2 separate regions of the Homo sapiens genome follow, and region 1 is linked to region 2. Evidence: promoter capture Hi-C in human tissues and cell types (Jung and others, 2019). All regions are on one chromosome and are shown on one strand. Each heading gives the region's core, a stretch centred on a gene start or on the middle of the fragment in contact. The rest is flanking DNA. Distances are from core to core; before and after follow the strand shown.

Region 1 (4,830 bases), core at 898-3,397, 1.4 Mb before region 2:
CGGATTATAGCTTGTAAGTTGGATAAGGAGAAAAGTAAAGAAAGGAACAGGCTGAAAGATTGCTTAACACACACGGATCCGTAGACCAGAGGCTCTGATGAGACCGAAGAGGAAACAGTTTAAAGCAATCAGTAGAGAGGCAACATTGTGGTTGATGGGTAATATGCTTGGATTTATTATTTTAAGATAGAACATTTTTACATAATATTGATGTCTACAATATTACGGTGTCCAGGTGGGTTTCCTGGGGTTGAGTGGAGGAAAAGTTATTGGAAAAGAGACAGCTAAATAAATTAGACAGAAAATCATCTCATCCCTACTACTGCGATTTCGGGGAATCATGGCTGGAGAAGGAGATTTTGTTCCAATGCATGACCTGTTGTTTTCTTCCACCCTGATAGTCAATGTGAGGGTGGTTGCAGGTCAGGGATTTAAGTAGGATGCTAAGACTGGTGTAGGTTATCACAAAGTACATACAACTTAGGGGTCAGGACAGTAACACATCAGGCTGGGGAGACAACAGAAGCCAGGAGGGCACAATTACTAGAAAACAAAACACGGCAAGTGGCCAGAAGTTGATGGAAATGGTGAGAAGCTGGAAGAGCTATATACTGAGAGGAAAGAAAAAGAAAAACTTTTGAAAAATAAGAAAGCCAAGCAAAACTGGGAATTAAGACAATGACAAGATAGACAGGTGGGCAGATAGAACACACCTACAGTGAAGGAGTCACCTTGCTTTGGTTCAACCTAAGCTGTGTTATTTCCTTGTGACCCTGATGAAAACTGATCTAGATCAAGCCTGGCCTGCACGTAGCAGTCAGTGAAAACAGCTAATGGATAGGAAAATGTCTGGTTGAAAGGAATGCTTGAAAACATGTTGTCCTTTGTCATTGAAGATGGCCCTGTTATACTTCAGACTCTATATTGGGATTTGCAGCCAAAAAGAAGAATTTCTTCCTATCTTCCCTTCCCTGATGGTAGCTTATTAGCCCATAGAATTACTGGAAAATAGAACTGTAATGCTTGGAAGTCCAGAAATAACATCTCTTCAAGGATCCGTCAGGTGAGGGCTGAAAACCAAATAAATATACGTATTCTCTCTTGCACAAAACCAGTACATCTGAAGCTAGAAAGCTACAAGCAGTTTAGGATCTCAAGAAAAATATGGTGAAACAGCTTAAGAAATACTGGATTTTGACCCAGGCAAGAAGGTAATGGTGCTCCAGAAGGCCTTGCTGTTGCCCTGTTCTGGCTGTGGCTCACATTATAGGCTGAAGAGTCCCTGGAGCCAACTAGGTGGGCCCAAGCAGAGGTGTATCCCTCTTCTAGACCATGCTTTGATATCTAAGACCCTGGAATCCCCTTTCTAAATGGTCTGACCCTACCTTTAGAGCCTGAGTGGGTCTGTTACCTCTATTATCGCTACTAAGGACAAGATGGCGCCACTGGTGGGTATATCCTAGGCTGAGTGGTGACTAAGAAGTGGCTGTTGGTGGAGGCCATGGCTGGAACTTGTACACGCAGCCTGGGTGTCCACATACATACAAGTATGAAAAGGAATAGGGGGTGGGAAAAGAAGGGAAGATTGTCAAAGGCCTCAGGCTAGGATCCACAAACCAGCTATCTGCACTGCCATGATCTGACTCAACTCTGAGGTGTCAAGGATTCTAAACTCAGATCTGGCCTTTCAGGCTTTATGAAATTCTATTTGTCAAGGTAGAAGGGTAGAACCTATTTTATTTAGCAGTCTATTCACTTGATTTATAACTTTTAAATATTTAGACGTATGGTACGTGATCCTCCATTTGTAAATTTGCCTAGGCCCCAAATATTTGGGACAGGCCTGGGCTTCTGTTCACAAGTTATTCTAAATTCATCTAGTCCTTCATTGTAGCACTGTCTTGTGCCTATTAGTTCATGTGTGTATCTTTCCTTTTAGACATTTTGCTCTTTAAAGCATGCCCTATTTATTTTTAAATTCCCCAGTGCATAGCTGATTGCCTCTTTACGTATAATAAGCACTCAATAAATATTTGCTGAATCAGCAAAAAGACTATGCAGTCATGAAATTTCTCTGGCTGAGGCAATGCTCTGATAAGCCTTTCTCTGTTTCTAAAATCCCAAGGTCTCCTCCTCTTGCTTAGTCCCTCTAAATTTTATATACATATATATATTCCCTCCACAAAGCTTACTTCCCTTTTCCATTACATGTGAATGTGAGAGGCAGAGAAAAATGAATTCCTAACAGGTGGCATCAGAATTCCTTTTAGCAAGAGAAAAAGGAATTTCAGACAAATTCTTTTGTCTAAAAAAATACCATGAAAATCCTGGTTTACTTGAGAAAATGTATGGGACCCTAGGCTGGCTGAAGTAAAGACATTACAGGGAAAGGAAGATTAATTTTGCATAAAAGATGAAGCATTTGGCATTCAGGAGGACAATCTGTTAGGAAGGAGGAAGAGAAGAGAGGAGCCAGCCAGATGGAAGACTCAAGATGACATGACCCATCTTTGTGACCACCTCCACCCATCCAAGTAAAGACTGCTAAGTTCCCAAGTCATGTTTAATGTGTTTGTTTTTCCCTGGAAACTGAAGAAGAAAGAAATGCATTCTACATTGGAATTACATGGTGTAGAACAGAGGTAGCATGTGAGAATGCAGAACCCCAGAGATTAAGATTTTCTCTGAGAATGAATTGTCAGCTTTCTGGAAAATTTGTAGAACTCTCAAGCCAGTCTTATGCAGGTTGTATGGCAGCTAATGCCATTGAGCTTCCCATTCTTCCCCCTTCAGTAGAAAGCCCCCTTCCCTCACATGCCTTGTGAAAGATGGCTATAAATGCTGCTCTCCCCACCTTCCAGTGAAAATGGCTCCGAGTTTGCAAGGAGGATTCAAGTCAGATTTATTTCATCTCAGTGAACACTACTTTCTACCTAGATTTCTTTTTCATCTATGAGTGCTTTTAATTAATTAATTTATTTTTTTGAGATGGAGTTTCGCTCTTGTTGCCCAGGCTGGAGTGCAGTGGTGTGATCTCGGCTTACTGAAACCTCTGCCTCCTGAGTTCAAGCAATTCTCCTGCCTCAGCCTCTGAGTAGCTGGGATTACAGGCATCCGCCACCACGCCCGGCTAATTTTTTGTATTATTAGTAGAGACGGGGTTTCACCATGTTGGCCACGCTGGTGTTGACCTCCTGACTTCAGGTGATCCACCTGCCTTGGCCTCCCAAAGTGCTGGGATTACAGGCATGAACCACCACGCCCAGCCGAGTGCTTTTTACTTACCAAAATAATACATGTAATAAGAAAATTTTAGTATAAAAATTTATAAAGTCAGTGAATTAAAATATACATATAAGAATAAACACATTGCTAGTTACTTTATCACTGTACTTTAGGGTTCTTTGTTTGGAAGCAACAGAAATCTACTCTGGGTGACTTAGAAAAATTATTTACTTGAAAAAATGGTAAGGAATCAGATCTGCATGTAGAGGACATGAAGGAATGCCCATTGAGGCACTAATGCATATTTCTTCCCTAAGGAAGAATTGAAGCGAAGGTTGGAGAGTGAGGTAAGGATCTTTGGAGAGGACAAGAATCAGAGCACTTCTGGACTTTGCAGTAGCAGGAAACCATGGAGTATCTTTAGGGCTCTGACACAAGCATACATCAGTTCTTCCCCTTTTCAAACTCCCAGGAAGGCGTCAGCTTTGCTTAGCTCAGGTGATGAGTCTGCCTTTTGGCCAGGGCACCTTCATTAACAAAGGGGAGATCTGGATTCTAGGCAAAACACATTTCCATTACCAGAAGCTGAAAGAATGGATTTGTGAAACAAAACTTTAGGTGTTCATTATAATTTTTCACATGTCACTACGTCATGGACAGTCATTTACGGCAGCACATACAGATCTAACCTTCTAAAAAGTGCAGTAATTTCTTGGCATGTGTGTCAAAACCTTTCTTTTATTTTTTAGTTTGAGTGTTAATGGACAAATAATAATTGTATATATTTATGGGGTACAATGTGATGTTTTGAAACATATATGTATCAACCGTAAAAGGATCATGTCAGGCTAATTAGCATACTCATCGCTTCTAATATTTATCATTTCTTTGTGATAAAAATATTTAAAATTATCCCTTTTAGCTAGTTTGAAACATACAATACATTATTATTAACTATGGCTACATTGCTGTTCAATAAAACACCAGAACTTGTTCCTCTTGTCTAACTGAAACTTTGTACCCATTGACCAATATCTCCCTTCTCCCCCACCCCATCTCTCCTCCATCTGCCTTCTCCTTAGCCTCTGGTAGCCACCATTCTACTCCCTCCTTTTATGAGTTCAACTTTTTTAGATTCCACATATAAGTGAGATCATATGGCATTTGTCTCTCTGTGCTTGGCTTATTTCACTTAACATAATGCCCTCCAAGTTCATTCACGTTGTTGCCAATGACAGAATTTCCTGTTTTTCTAAAGGCTGAATAGTATTCCATTGGGTATACATACGCCACATTTAAAAAATAATTTATTGACAGACACTTAGGCTGTTTCCCTATCTTGGCTATTGTGAGTAATGCTGCAGTGAATGTGGGAATGTGCACATCAAACTATTTCAATTCCTTTGGGTTTATACCCAGTAATAGGACTGTTGGATCATATGGTAATTCTATGTTTAGTTTCTCAAGGAAAACCTTTCTGAACAGGGACCATTATCTTGGACCTTCTTCACATGTGATCAGACTAGGTGGTATTAAACTACAGGGCTTTTAGTTAGCCCTTTGTTTTCACACACTTTGCTGACCTCAGAACCTCTATCCCAGCCC
Region 2 (5,235 bases), core at 2,530-5,029:
GCCCGGGGCAATGATTTGCCTGCCAGCGTCCTGAGCGCCAGCCAATATTTGGATAGTGCAGTAGTTGTTTAAAAACAACAAAAAAAAATTACTCGCGGAAACTTGAAACCGACTGGTTGGTGCCAGGGTGGTTACACGATCTGTTTTTCTTGAGAGGGGGTCTGCAGGCAGCTGGAGCGCGCGCGTTCCGGCCCCCGCCGGTGCCACTGAGCGCCTGCAAAACTTGTCGGAATTAACCTCCGGGGAAGTAGGGGAAGAGGAGAGCGCGCCCCCCTCCCCACCGCGGCCCCAGCTCTGCACCCCGGCCCAGTGCCGCGCTTGGAATCCCCCAGGATCCTCCGCGGCGGCCGCAGCCCGCCACTCTCCAAAACAGACACGCGACCCGAGCTCCCTGTCTGCGCTCTAGGCAGCAATTGCGGCCTGGGCCGCCGCGTCCGGCTGTGGCCTAGGTGGTGGGAAGTACTTTCTACCCTCGCCAAGCACAACCTGAATGCGGAAGCGTGAGGCTCGGGGCGCTTCGCTCAGCCTCCGAGACTGTTTTGTCCCAGGTTGCGTGGAACCTGGCTCGCCGAGGCCGAAGACACTGGCCAAGCCCCTGGCGTCCCCTGGCGCTGAACCTGAGGTTGTGGCGGCGGGTCTGCGGGCTGTAGCGAGCTCACCCAGTGAGGGCCTGGCTCATTTTTTGTGCTCAGGGTTCGCGTTATGCGCCCAAGATTTGTCCCGGGAGTCCCTGAAGGGCCCCTCCCCTCGATCGGTTCCCAGGAGCCGCAAGTGCCCAACGGGCACGGTCCCAGAGCTGCTCCCCAAAAGGAGACTCTGCTGTTCCAGCAACCCGCGGAAGGGATGCTATCCGAGGTATCAACAAAAGATCCCTTTGCTCGAGCTGCGTGTGGGGTCGAAGTCCGGAGAGCCCTTAAGTGTGCGGCACGCAGAGCTCCTCAGCAGCGGCCTGACAGCGGTGCAGGAGACCCCAGCTTCCTGGGCTGGGACAGGGCTGTTGTCTCACGGTCTTGTTCCAAGGAAAAGGAGCCACCTGGCTCCAGCAGGCTCTTGTCAAACTGTGAGCGTCCTTGGAATTCTGTGGCTTCCCGAGGCCAAGAGGCTGTCCGCTGCTCGGCTCTCTCAAGTGTCTCAGCGGACAAAAATCGCGCAGAAACTCCTATGGCAGGAGGAAAGCTTCCGACATACAGTGAAAGAGAAAACATCTTACTTTGAAAAGGGCTTAGGACCAAGAAGCTGCTCTTTTCCCCGGGCCTTCTTGCAAGCTTCAGTCGTAACATCTATTCTCAGACGTCTTCTGGCCTAGGACAAACTGGCCACATAGAGCTAGCCAGAAATCTAGCTCCTGACTAAAGATGGAAATTACGGGCCTGACCCGCTCACGGCACTCCTGCGACCTGGCTAAGCCACCCCACGGACAGACGTGCTCCCACCGTCCAGCTCACCAAAAGCCAGAAGCTGAAAACACCCGATCTGGTGTCACCAAGGTTGCTAGTTAGGGGGCAGCCCCCCAAGCAGCTGGGCCGATGGCTTTCTTCCAGGTTAGGCGTGGGAAAACCGAGGGAGCCATAGTGTCCAAATGCTCCTTTCTCCTCAAATCGCCTAACGGGAAAGGACCCGTGAATTTCCAACTTCAGCCACCCTATTTTACAAATAATGAAACAGTCCCAGAGACGGAGAGTATACTTGTTTCTAAACTCTGCTTTTCCTCCCAGCTGAAGGGCAAAGGTAGCCAAAACGAGTATACAACTTCAGGTTCTCCCTGCAGTAAACTGGGGTTTCCTGCTGGGTGTTTGGATGAGTGCAGAGCAGGAACCTCCAAGCAGAAGGACCTCACTCCTGGGTTCATCCACCTCTCCCTCGCAGATCACACCAGGATCCTGTGGACTGATAATTTTTGCTTCCTATTTAATTATTTCCATTCCACCTCCTGCCTCGCCCTGGCCCCACACCACCGTGCTAAGAATAGCAAAGATTTCCTTCCAGCACACACAGGTGATGGGACCCCTGAATCCCCAACTCTTACTTCTGGCCCCAGCTCAGACATCGCCATCCCAGAGAAACCTCATCTTGTCCAACTCACTCGCTCCAGGAAAGTGTGGTGGAGCCTCCATTCGCCAAGCCCTTTAGTGCCTATTCTATTAATTTCTTGGTTACTGTTCGTCTCACCCTCTATACCGCGATGGTGGAGCTCGGATACTGTCTCCTGTCTCCCTGCACCTGGTGCCTCACATGCAGTTGGCGCGCAATAAAACTGAGATGAATTTGGCATTTGGTGAAAACACCCCATGCTTTCTTCCCCATGAGTTTTTCCCTCCAGCCCTCTAATCATCGGGGTTTCTTGCAGAGAAGAGGCCTTGAGGACACGATACTCTGAACTTGACCCAGAGTGTCTAGCCCAGGAAAAAGGGTTTGTAAGGAGAGAGAAGCTCACAGCGAGTAGATGAAAACAGGGAAGGGTAAAAGGAAGGGGGCGGAAGAGGGAGATGCCAGAGAGAAGAGAAGCAAGAAGGCAGTGTCCTGTTCCCCCTCCACCGTGCTTGGTGGCCCGGGTGGGGCGCAGCTGCGGGAAATGCACCCGGAGCTGTGCCCCCTCCCGGCGAACAGCCTGCGCCACCCGCCGCACCGGGAGGTGGCTGGGGGCTGCCGAGCGAGTGGTGAACGCGATGGGTGGAGAGCGCCCGAAACGAGGTGGAAAAGGGGGCGGGGGCGAGGCACGGCGCCTTCTTGCCCCTTCTTCAGCTACAGACGCGGCGGCGGCGGCTGAGTCCCTCAGCCTCGGTCATGTGATAGTCTCGAAGCGCTAGCTGCGGGGGTCTCGGCGTCTCGGGGACCATTACAAAACGCAGCCAGGAGAGCGCGTCGCTGCCACTGCCGTCGCCTCTCCTCCTCAAGACAAGCCCGGGAGAAAGGCGGCAGCTGCGGCGCGGACGGCTGAGCCTCCCCGGCCAGCACTCACCCAGCATTCGCAGACGCCCTCTCCAGCCCGCCGCTCGCTCCCAGAGTCCTGCGCCCCACACTCCTCAGCAGAACCTGCGGGCGCTGCCGCTTCAGAAACCACCAAAGTTTTTTCTCCTCAGCGACAGCCTAGGGCTGCGCGTCTCTTCTAACCCCGGCGACGCTGCGAGCCTCGGAGAAAAGAGAGGCGCCCTAGAAGCCAATCTTCTCTCTCCTTACCCTGATTTTTCACTCCAGGAAAAGGAGAACTCCAGCGCGGTCTGGCTAAGTGCCTGGCCAGGGGCCTGCGTCCAGGGCACTGGAAGTCCTGCTGTCACTGGCCTCCAGGACAGCAGGCGCAAACTCAGATTTAAAGGGCCAGAGTCTCTACTGCCCAGACCTTCCTCCCAGCCATCTTGGTCTGGGTTTCCCTCGGACCTAGAAAAAGCAAAGAGGCCGGGAGGAAACACGGCCCCTTGCCACTCTCCTCTGCAGCCAGCTCCAGCACTCAGTCTTTGGCCACCCGGGGGAAGACGCAGAGAAGGCGGCGGTAAACCTGGTGCACTCCGCCCGCGACTGTGCGCGCCAGTCGGCAACCGTCGGGGCCAGAAGTTGCCAGCTTCCGAGAGCTGAGTAGGCCCGAAAGGCCAAGGTCGGAGACACCAGGCAATTCGGAGAAGGCAGGAGAGAGAAGCAGAGAGGGCCTGGAGGGCGAGAGGGCAAAGTGGCGGGACTGGAGGGGCCGAGTGGGAATTAGTGGGGGCAGCCAGGCCCCAGGAACGGAGTGCGGAGAGATTCTGTGGTCCAGTGCGGGCCGGAGGGCGGTGGAGGAGCCGGGGGCGATGCCGCGGCCGGGGAAGAGCTCGTACAGCGACCAAAAACCGCCCTACTCTTACATCTCGCTGACCGCCATGGCAATCCAGCACTCGGCCGAGAAGATGCTGCCGCTGAGCGACATCTACAAGTTCATCATGGAGCGCTTCCCCTACTACCGCGAGCACACACAGCGCTGGCAGAACAGCCTGCGCCACAACCTCTCCTTCAACGACTGCTTCATCAAGATTCCGCGGAGGCCCGACCAGCCTGGCAAGGGTAGCTTCTGGGCGCTGCACCCCGACTGCGGGGACATGTTCGAGAACGGCAGCTTCCTGCGGCGTCGCAAGCGCTTCAAGGTGCTGCGCGCCGACCATACTCACTTGCACGCGGGAAGCACCAAGAGCGCGCCGGGCGCCGGTCCGGGAGGGCACCTTCACCCCCATCACCACCACCACCCCCACCACCACCATCATCACCACGCTGCCGCACACCACCACCATCACCACCACCCACCCCAGCCGCCGCCGCCGCCGCCCCCGCCGCCGCCGCACATGGTACACTATTTCCATCAGCAACCGCCTACTGCTCCGCAGCCGCCTCCGCACCTCCCGTCACAGCCCCCGCAGCAACCGCCCCAGCAGTCGCAGCCTCAGCAGCCGTCTCACCCCGGCAAGATGCAGGAGGCGGCGGCCGTGGCGGCGGCGGCGGCGGCGGCCGCGGCAGCCGCGGTGGGCAGCGTGGGACGCCTGTCTCAGTTCCCACCCTACGGGCTGGGCTCGGCCGCCGCCGCTGCCGCCGCGGCCGCGGCGTCCACGTCAGGCTTCAAGCACCCCTTTGCCATTGAGAACATTATTGGCCGGGACTACAAGGGCGTGCTGCAGGCTGGAGGGCTGCCCTTGGCGTCCGTCATGCACCACCTGGGCTACCCCGTGCCCGGCCAGCTTGGCAACGTCGTCAGCTCCGTGTGGCCGCACGTTGGCGTCATGGATTCGGTGGCCGCCGCCGCGGCCGCCGCAGCCGCAGCCGGAGTCCCTGTAGGCCCGGAGTATGGGGCCTTCGGGGTCCCGGTCAAGTCCCTGTGCCACTCGGCAAGCCAGAGCCTGCCTGCCATGCCGGTGCCCATCAAGCCCACGCCTGCGCTGCCGCCCGTGTCCGCGCTGCAGCCGGGGCTCACTGTCCCCGCGGCTTCGCAGCAGCCTCCGGCGCCATCCACCGTGTGCTCCGCGGCCGCGGCCTCGCCCGTTGCCTCTCTGCTGGAGCCCACAGCCCCTACCTCGGCCGAAAGCAAGGGCGGCTCCTTGCACTCGGTGCTAGTGCACTCCTAGGGGACCCGGCGGGCGTGGGGAGACCAGCGGGGTGAGAGACGCCGGGCCCGGAACCGCCCAAACCACCCGACGGGGAGAGGGCGCCCTGGTCAGGCCGGGCAGAGCTGGCGAGTCTCAGCCTTTGCTGGAACGGAAGGTATTTAAATAGACGAACAAC

What was found. The method cuts DNA at HindIII sites, captures the fragments that hold promoters and counts their contacts. A contact is called where the count stands out against the background at its distance.
Region 1: a contact is called between a fragment that was not itself captured here and the fragment with the promoter of FOXB2 in region 2, in 1 of the 25 tissues and cell types used here (IMR-90 fibroblasts).

The regions. Positions count from the first base shown.
Region 1 is chr9:75,572,734-75,577,563 of GRCh38, forward strand. No RefSeq gene overlaps it. Among named protein-coding and RNA genes, the nearest start is that of PCSK5, 320 kb to the right of the region's middle. The HindIII fragment of the contact is 6,061 bases long and covers 1-4,830 here.
Region 2 is chr9:77,015,876-77,021,110 of GRCh38, forward strand. It overlaps FOXB2 (forkhead box B2), which reads left to right and starts at 3,780. Exons shown (of 1, transcript NM_001013735.1): 1 at 3,780-5,078. The coding sequence starts at 3,780. The coding sequence ends at 5,078. The HindIII fragment of the contact is 6,747 bases long and covers 546-5,235 here.